Linked DNA regions of Homo sapiens: region 2 is linked to region 1. The links are contacts of gene promoters, found by promoter capture Hi-C in human tissues and cell types (Jung and others, 2019). All regions are on one chromosome and are shown on one strand. Each heading gives the region's core, a stretch centred on a gene start or on the middle of the fragment in contact. The rest is flanking DNA. Distances are from core to core; before and after follow the strand shown. Region 1 has its middle 15 kb from the start of MIR3198-2. Region 2 holds the start of HOXC4 (homeobox C4).

Evidence for each region. Contacts are between HindIII fragments. The study calls those that stand out against the background at their distance.
Region 2: the fragment with the promoter of HOXC4 here is called in contact with a fragment that was not itself captured in region 1 in 7 of the 25 tissues and cell types used here (bladder, lymphoblastoid cells, mesendoderm cells and 4 more).

Annotation. Positions count from the first base shown.
Region 1 is chr12:54,214,548-54,219,337 of GRCh38, reverse strand. No RefSeq gene overlaps it. Among named protein-coding and RNA genes, the nearest start is that of MIR3198-2, 15 kb to the left of the region's middle. RefSeq lists silencers at 1,302-1,351, 3,153-3,338. The HindIII fragment of the contact is 3,556 bases long and covers 1-3,232 here.
Region 2 is chr12:54,052,385-54,057,100 of GRCh38, reverse strand. It overlaps HOXC4 (homeobox C4), which reads right to left and starts at 3,266. Exons shown (of 2, transcript NM_153633.3): 1 at 2,740-3,266; 2 at 1,071-2,251. The coding sequence starts at 3,178. The coding sequence ends at 1,896. RefSeq lists a cis regulatory region at 2,975-3,475 and enhancers at 4,052-4,211, 3,507-4,488, 4,489-4,716. The HindIII fragment of the contact is 12,403 bases long and covers 1-4,716 here.

The DNA of each region.
Region 1 (4,790 bases), core at 205-2,704:
AGTAAGCATTTTATGTACTATTCTCGCTCCATCATTACAAAGTCCCTATTAAGTAGTCACTATTATTCCCATTTTAAGGTGAGGAAACAGCCTTCGAAGGAGGCAGTTACTTCTCCAAGATCATGCGGTGCCAGAGTTTGAACCTCAGCTTCTTGGCTCGGAGTCCAGTGCTTTTTCACGGCATCAGCTCTCCACTCATAATCCCCCTGGTTTCTCACCCCTCACAATCTTGGGCCAAGATGCGTAAGGACCCAAAAAGTACCAAGAGGAGGGGCTCTTCCATGGGATGTCATGTAAAGGCTGCTTGGGACCACCAGAGCCCTGGGTATCTATGTGTGCCTGAAATAGTCAAGGCCTCACTCATTTATTCAGTATTTGAGTATCTCCTGGTCTTCAGACTTTGTGCCCAGAAGTGGGATACAGCAAAGAACAGACATATTCTCTGTCTTAAGTGAGAGCTCACAATTTGGTAAGTGCAACTGACCAAATGTTTTTGCAGTAAGTGCTAATAGATGTCATTATCAATTGCCAGGGGTGAGAGGAATCTCAGAGGTCTTTCCAAAGGAAAGAACGTCTGTGCAATGATTTTCAAAGAATGTGTCTGTCAAACAGACAAGAGGGCAGAAGAGCAGTCCAGGTGGAAGCAAGGTGCAGGTAAGTCCAGGCAGAGTGAGAGAGCTCATGAGGAGCTTAGGGACCCTCAGAGCAGTTTTGTGTAACCGAAGCGCTGGCTGTTGTGTGCCTGAGTCTGGCCATGATGCAGAAGATAAGGCTAGAGAAGGGGGATGCTGACAGAACGTCAGGGGCTTTCTTTGGCAAGGGTGAACAATATAAGCTTTATTCTGCAAGCCTGGGAGTCCAGAGTTTTTAGCTGTTGACCTCCATTAGACCAATTTTTTAGCAAGGTAACCCCAGAGGCAGGACTACCACCTAAGAGGCTATGCACCAGTCCTAGCAGGAAAATCCCACCAGAAGCCCCTGGTCCAAGGCGTCAGGTAAAGATGAGCGCATTCAGGAGACATTGACCAAGTCGAGTCCAAGAGAAATGGAGGAACCAGAATCTGAGATTGCAGGCTTGGCCTGCGCCAGTGCGAGACAGACATGCCCAGAAGGTGGCTCGAGCCAGGGGAGCCGGGTCCGGGCAGGACTGATCCAGCGGTTACTCAGGGAGGCGTGAGAACGCGCCAGTACCCGGGACGTGAACAGCCGCGGCGGAGGCGCGCAGGGAGAACGCCTGCCCCGCGTGGGGCCTGCTCGCCCAGAGCCGCCAGCCACGAATTTATGGCCCAAAGCCGAATGCAGCTGTGCGCAGCTGGGTATGCAAATGTATGCAAATTCGCGCTGCCCGGCCCGGGCTAGGTTGCGAGCGGAGTCAAAGGGTGGGGGAAGGGGCGCAGCATTGTTACTGTTCTTGCGCTCCCAGAGGAGTTCAGACGCGGTGCGGGAGGGGATGCAGGGGGAAGAAATACATCTTCCCTGTCCTGACCGTCCCGCCTCAGGACCGTGACAATCTATCGGGACGAGCGTGGGTTCCCTCCATGTCCTCAATGACTTGTGCCCTCACGCCCTCAGCCCCACCCTGCGTAAGATGCGTGCAGGAGGAAGGGTCCTGACACCCAGAATACCTGAGCCCCTGTTGGTCTGAGCGTCCTTCCTTCACTGCGAGCGGGAAGGAGCCGCAGGGTGGGTAGATGATCCCACACCCGCCCGGGTCTCCCAGAATTACCCCTCCCCATAGCCAGGGAGGGGGTCGTCCGGAAGACCTGATTTCTTTCATCCCTTTATTGTGACCCGTCCTTCTGCCTCCCATCCGCTTCTTGAGAAGTCCCTACAGAAGTCTAACCATAGTCACATTTGCTATTGTTTCTGTTTTATTTTTCCGGGTGGTTTAGTGAGAAGATTATTCCCAAAGTCCCAAATGTTGGGTTCTGAGGGTGTGGGAGTGGGGCCTGGGCATCAACTCCCGCCCCCTCTCCCCCACCCAACGACCAAAGAATAAGTCCCCACGCTAGGCAAGAACTGGAAGGGAGTCTGGGCTGAGGCTGTCATCTCCCGGCTCTGGCTTGTTTTTTTTCCCGCTTTTTTTTTTTTCCCTTGCTGACTCTTCCCACAATGGCCACAAGGGGTCTTCCTTGCGCTAAGAATGGGAAATCCGGCGTCAGGTTTGAGCGCTGTGAGGGTGGGGCGCCTAGCGATGCTTCCTCTCCGCGGTTTCCGAGCGCCGAGACCTGCAGGCGTCCCACCTCCCCGCCCCTCCTCGGTGGCTTCACTCAGTCGCAGACGACTTCAGTTCTCTTACCCCACGCTCCAGACTGGAGATTGGCATTTCAAGATCTCCTGCTCCTTCCCCTAAGCCTATGGAGCAACCGGAGGGCTGTGAGCTGAGACAAGAATTCGGGCCAGACATATAGTAGGCGCTCAATAAATGCTTTTCAGATGAATGACAATGTGGCAGTGTCCTGTTCAGAAGCTTGGGCAGGGAAGAGATGACTCGGGTGAGTTGAGCAGGACACCCCTCCTCCCAAAGCAAGAGGGTGCCAAGAGGCGGCTCAACTCCCTACCAGGGAAACTGAGGCCATCTGTGGGACTTACATATTGATACAGCAGGGGAGGTTCTGAAGTGACAGGGGCAATTAGAAGGGAGGGGTTAGCCAATCAGAAAGCTGTCATGGATTGATCTGACGTCGGAAGGCGGGAAAAACGGAAGATCCAGGCCCCTAAAGGAAAGCTTTGTTAGAACGGGAAAATGGGATGTGAGCGTGGAAAAGGGGCTGGAGATTTGGATTGTTTAGCTCAGAGAAGGAAAGTTAAGGCAGCCCCTTTCTCCTGTGAGGTCAGAAGTTGTTAGGTTTAGCTGAAGCTGCAGCAGGAGGAAGGGTGGTCAGACACCAGGAAGGACTTCCCCGTTGGAGTCAGACGTGGTGGCAGAGGGTGAAGGGGTGATGACGTCGTTCCCGGGGTGGGAGGTGAGTTATCTGAAACCCTCTTATAATGGGAACCCGTCAGGGGTGGTGGGGGCGGGAGATACAGTTAAGGGTTAGATGCAGTAGGTGGAAGCTTAGGTGAAGTCGGCTGCCCTTCCCCCACGGAAGCGGCTGCAGGGCCCGAGAGGTGGGAGGTTCCTGACCAGGTGCTCTCACGCTCACTGCCCACCTGGATGGACACCTGGGTGGTCCCGCCACACACCCCCACTCAGGGCTTGCAGGAAGTCCTTCCCCAGCCGGATGGGGCGAGGTGTGTTTGGATGAACCGTAGCCTCGGGTTGCACCCGGGTGGCGCAGACCTCCTCGAAGACCCTCACGTGGGCTCCCGTGGCAACTCGCCAGTCCCATCCCCTAGCTTTGGCGCATTCAGGGCCGCTCCTGAAATGTCCTCCCTGCAACCCTAGAAAAGGCTCCTCTGGGAAGCTTGCCCTGTTCTCGCCAGCCTGGTCAGAAATCCTATGGCTCTTCTACTTTGTTTCTCTGGGTGACCTGGGTGAGCAGGAACCACACCTTGATTAGCACATAGTAGGGACACCAAATAAAGTTTTGGGTGGAGGCCTGGCTTTAAATCATGCACTGTCCTAGCTGTGTGACCTCGGTTTGAAGCCCCATGTCCTGATCCGTGAAATGGGTACTTCTGTCTTGCTCACTTCTTAGGCTTTTTTTTTTTTTTTTTTTTTTTGAGACAGAGTTTTGCTCTTGTCGTCCAGGCTGGAGTGCAATGGCACGGTCTCGGCTCACTGCAACCTCTGCCTCCCAGGTTCAAGCGATCCTCCTGCCTCAGCCTCCCAAGTAACTGGGATTACAGGTGCGTGCCACCACGCGCAGCCAATTTTTTTATTTTTAGTAGAGACAGGGGTTTCACCATGTTGGCCAGGCTGGTCTCAAACTCCTGACCTCAGGTAATCTACCCGCACCGGGCTCCCAAAATGGTGGGATTACAGGCGTGAGCCACCGTGCCTGGCCTTCTTACGCTATTTAAAGGACTATGTGCCTGAAATAACCAAAGGGAAAGCATTTTGTTTTATGCAAATGCAGGCTGTGGGAGTCCAAGCCATGCAGACACCCGTGTGCACAGGGGTGGGTACACCCACATTCACACAGGTTGAATCTCTTGGAGGGGCTAGGTCCGCGTCTTTGGAGGCAATCAAGCAAAAGCTGGAGATGGTAGGCGGGGGGGCCAGCTAGGGAGAGCTAGCTGTCAGATGCCAGAGAGGGAACCCAAGAATGCGAGGGGTGGTCCCCAGAACTGGCTATCCTAGACCCAGGATCCGATTCTCCAGGGCGGGATCCCAGTTCCCTGGAGGATTCTGGGTACAGGCCAGTGGGCCTGGACCCTGGCGCAGAAACACGGGACCGAAGACCCCGCTGTGGGAGCCCCGAGTCGGGGCTGCCCGGCAGAGGGCGCCCAGGCTGGCTCGGGCACAGCGCTATAGCCATCTTCGGGTGCGGCCCGCCTCCTATTGCGCCCTCTGCTGGCCAACAAGGACACTATCGCGCTGCCTGTCTTCAGTGCCCACAAAATGGGCGGGGTTCTGCTAATTCAGGGGCTGTTGGCCACGCCTCTTCTGCTGAAGCCTCCTGCATCCTGGACGCCAGAACTCCCAGCCAGGCCTGGCTCTAACTCCTCCACCCTTCAACTCCTTGTGGAGAAGGGAGCTCCTCTCCATCCTTCAAAAGGTGAATCCAAGTACCAGGTTGCCTGCCCAGCTCCACACTCACGCTCGACCGGGGAGGGTGATGAGAAGAATCCCCAGCAGCGTCACGCTTAGGGTATCTTTATATCCAGATTATGGAGGTTTAAAA
Region 2 (4,716 bases), core at 2,017-4,516, 160 kb after region 1:
CTCTTCTCCCTCTGTCTTCTACTTCTAATTGCCTTTCTTCCTGAAATATGGATAAATCGTCCGAGAAGAAGGTCACCAACAGCCCTCCTCCCACCTTCTCCTAACAAACAAGCAAAAAATTAAGCAGGCCTTGCTAGGGCCTGGATCTCAGGACCAGAATTATTTGGGAGCCTTTGGCTTGAATGTATTCAGGTAATCCAGGCAAGATTTTTTGTTTCTTTTTTAGCCCCAAGGAAACAAATTTATTTAATTAATTTATTTCTTTACAGCCAGAGAAACTTGTTCAGGCTATCCCCATACGCTGCCAGGACCTGGGAGGTTATAGGAAGAGAGGGTGGTCCTTGACTCTCCCTAAGTCTCTTCGCAACACCTGGCAGGTCCATAATAAAAGTTAGAGAATAAAAAGGTAAAAGTCTTTTATTATCTCCAGGCATCAGCCTTTGAGGCCTATCCATAACAAGGGTACCTCCCAGGCCTCTGGCCAGTCTTTTTTCCAAGCCTAAACAAACAGAGAAGGCATCCTGACAGGTGACTTTGCTGCTTCAGAGTCACCAGCTCAAAACCTTCCTTCTTTTAAGAACTCAAATGTTGAGGGGATGTCTTCCTTAATCCCTCATCCCAAAAGAGCCCTAAAAGATGAAAGAAAACTATTCTCCTTCCCACTCCCTAAACTTGCCCCCTTGTCTACAAAGTAGGCAGGCCTACTCAGCACAGAGGAGGGAGAAGGGAAGAGAGAGAAAAGACAAAAAGAAGAAACTGTACCTAACTATAGAAAAGTGAGACACTCCCCACCCTCAGCTCCACTGAAGTGCCCCCAGAGGAGTCTGGTCTCTCTGCAGACTCAGGGGGAAGGAAGGGGACTGGAGAAATCAGCCTTAATCTTCCACATCCCCTCTTCTGAAGATCCCATACCCCAACCCCCTTGCTTGTTCTTCTAAGGACATTGGAAGACTAATGGAGAGCTAAGATTTGTGTGTTTGTTTAAAGTAAACTTAGGCAACTATAGAGAAGATGGGATGTTACCAGGCCAGAGAGGGAGGGGAATAAAAAGAAACCATCAGACATTGACGTAAAACTAATTCACATCCACTGGTTTATTATTGATCACGGGGCATTTCACATCGACACTAAAATTCTTTATTGCAAGTTTTACAATAATCAAGTAAATTCAGTCCAAAAACACAATAACCACGATAGGGGTGGGGAGAGATTCTACCTATAGACTGCCTCTCTGAACTGAAAGTTCATTTTGATTTTCTTTTGGCTCCTCAAACTGAACAGCTCTGAGAGGCTCTCCAGATGCATTTAGCTTTGTCTGCTGTCTTCGCCCCCTCTCCTCCCACACCCCCCCCCAACAATAATACAAAAGAACTTCATAGCTTTGTTCTCCTTAAAATGACTTCCCCCTCACTAACCTCCCCTGGTGCATTTTCAATGCAAAAGGCCTAAGGAAAGAGGGGGGGAAGGAGGAGGAGGAGAAGGATGAGAATTGGCTTTAAAATTTCTTTCCTTTTTTCTTTTCCTCATTTCCCCTGAAATTCACCCAAGCCAGACCATCACACCTTGCAATATATAATTTTTGCAGCTTTTTTTCTTAAAAAATAAATAACCCCCCAAAATGGCCTTTTAAAAAAAAACACCCAGCAGGTACCATGCTAAGACAACATCACATGCTTAAAAGGGTCCTTAACAGTGGGAGGGAGAGGAGGGCAGGGGGCTTGTTTGTTTATCTGTTTTGTCTGTTTGGAACTGACAAGGGACAAGGTGAGAGGAAGAGAGAAAAGAACCTATATATATATATATATATATATATATTAAATTCTATAAATAAGAGTCAATTTGTGTGTGAGGGGAGGGTGGGGGCATGGGGTGGGGGCAGGGGTGTGAGTTATGTTTTATAACCTGGTAATGTCCTCTGCCCGTTGCTGCTCCGGCGGCGTGGCGCTCTGGGAGTGGTCTTCAGAAGTACCCGGGGTAGCTGCCGAAAGGGTGCTGGGCGCAGCGCCGGCCGGGGGTGCTGACCTGACTTTGGTGTTGGGGAGTCGGTGGTCCTTCTTCCATTTCATGCGACGGTTTTGGAACCAGATTTTGATCTGCCTCTCAGAGAGGCACAGCGAGTGGGCGATCTCGATCCTTCTCCTTCGGGTCAGGTAGCGGTTGTAATGAAACTCTTTCTCTAATTCCAGGACTTGCTGCCGGGTATAGGCTGTCCTCGAGCGCTTGGGTTCCCCTCCGTTATAATTGGGGTTCACTGGGGGGAGGGGAAAAGCAAATAGTGGGGTTCAGAGGCAGCAGGCTCCCCGCCCCCCACCCTCACCCCATCCTCAGCTCTGAGAAACAGGAGGAGGGAGTGGTGGAAATAAAGTCATCAAGCTTAAATGGGTTATAAAGAAGTTGAAGGAAGCTGAAGACTTTGTAGTGTAATAAGAGGGGAATCCTCATTGTAACGACACTGAATTATTTATGCGCCCTTAGAAAGCGAGCATAGTTTTCACACATACATAACAGATCGTAGCACATGGCTCGGACTGCCCAGAGTAGCTAAGCCATAAAATTTATGGGGGATGTAATTACCCATTCTCGCTCGTAAATCCAGTTCAATTGTGCTAACCCAGAGTCGCTCCTGGAGAGAGAGGGGGAAGGAGAGAAAGGAGGACGGGGGCCAGAGGGGGCCGAGGAGGGTGGGGAGCGCTAGGGAAGAAGGGAGGGAGGGGGGGAGCAAAAAGCAAAGTTGCCTACCCGTGCTAACGTGAATTTTTTTCATCCATGGGTAGACTATGGGTTGCTTGCTGGCGGCGCTGGAGGGATGGTCGGGGGCTGGCTGGCTGCAGGCTGGCGGGGCTGGGGACGGGGAGGCGGAGGCGCCTGAGAGAGGCGCCGGCTCGCAGAGCGACTGTGATTTCTCGGGGTGGTGGTGGCCCGCCTGGGCCGGCCCGTGGCCTCGCGAATTGCCGGGCCCCTGGAGACTGGTGCAGCTATACTGGCGCTCAGGGTAGCTAGGGCGCGGAGGCGGTGGTGGGTACAGCTCCTGGTGGTGATGCTGGAATCCCGATTCCCTGGTCCGGCCGTAATATTCCGGACTGTGTTCAGGGATGTAGCTATTTTGCGAATATTCTTCGCATGGAGGAAATTTCGGATCGATGTAGTTAGAGTCCATCAAATACGAGCTCATGATCATTAATTTCTGGAGTGGAAAATAATTTTTCTCGCTTTGTCGTTTTTCTGCTCCATAAAGCCCTCCTACTAGCTAGCGACCCTGTAAAGTTACTTTCACCATGTGACTCCTCCGGCCAATCACACGGAGCAACCCAGTCCCCGGATAAGGAACCGAATCGCTTTATTCAAAATGTATCCAATTTTTTTGTGTGTGTGGTGGTGGTGGTGCTGGGAGGCGGGGGTGGGTGGTGATGTGGGGTTAGCTAGCAGAGGTTGGAGTGCCCCCAGTGCACATCCCGCCAGACTGACAACCCTCCCCTGCAAAAGGAGATGGGAAGCTCCCGGCTCCCCTCCAAAGCCCGGGCATTGGGGGACTGTCGGGAGGCAGTGATTCAGCCCCCGCCCAGGGTCTCCCCTCAGGCCTCTGCTGGGCCCCGTGGGCCTCGGCTCCTGAGCTTTTCCAGAGGTCTCCATTCATGGCGATCGTGTCTCAGTCTGTGTAGGTCACGGGGCAGCGCCCCTCTTTCGCAGGAAGAGGAAGTTGAATGAGGACTGGAGTGGATGTTGGATGGGGAGGGGCCCAGGCTGAGCCGAGGAGGCTGGAGAGCCTGGAGTGCCCCCCATCCAAGGATACCAGAGTCCAGCCCCTCTTCCCCATACACACTCACCCAACCCTCTGGCCATGCGGCCGGCGAGGCAGGGTCCCAGCTGGACCAGGCAGGTAGAGGCAGCGGGATGCAAATGATTCTGACGTCATTTCTGGAGGTCTGGGGGTTGAGCCCCCGCTGAAGAGAGACAGGAAGTGGTTGGCAAAAGCAGAGTTCAGAAGTCTCGCCTTCCCCTGCTACCCACTGACCCTCCCTGCCCCAGCCCCAGAGCAGAGGATCTCTTCTACTGCTGGCTTCTGTTTCCACTCCCCATTCAGCCCGGCCTGCTATTTTCTGACAATTATCTCCAAGGAGCTGGGGCAAGGAGGAGAGCTTTCTGCCAGGAGTCAGTGCCCTGTGATGGTGCCCAGCCAAGATCCTGAGAGTTCTTTCTCTGTCCCCACAGAGGGCAGACCTAGCTAAGAGGGAGGCCTGTGTGGGTAGAGCCTGCTTGCTTCTGGCTAGGAGCTGTATCCATGTAACACGTGTGTTTACATGTAAACACGAATTCCTAAAGGCCAGCTCCAGGCTGCTTTCCAAAAACGGAAGGCTAAGCTCACCAAGTTGGGGAGGCACGGCCAGCCTTTGGGGTCTCCAGCCCATTCACACCCCCTGCTCTCTCTCTGCCACCCACTCACAGTAATACTCTGATGGAGGGGGGTGACAGGGCCGTAGAGGAGGGAGGGGGCCAGGAAAAGCTGCTTTCCTAACCACCACCCCCCCCCCCCAGCTAGGGGTGGTCCTGTCATGCCACCGATTCCAATTAACTGATCGCCCATAACTCAGAGTTGCGGGGGGTAGCGGAGGGGAGAGCCCAGGGAGGGAGCCGGGTCCCCTTGTTGTACTTGATAACAATTATAGTTTAAAATCATAGCTTGCCAGGGCTCAGCTATATTTTACTTGATAACAATAA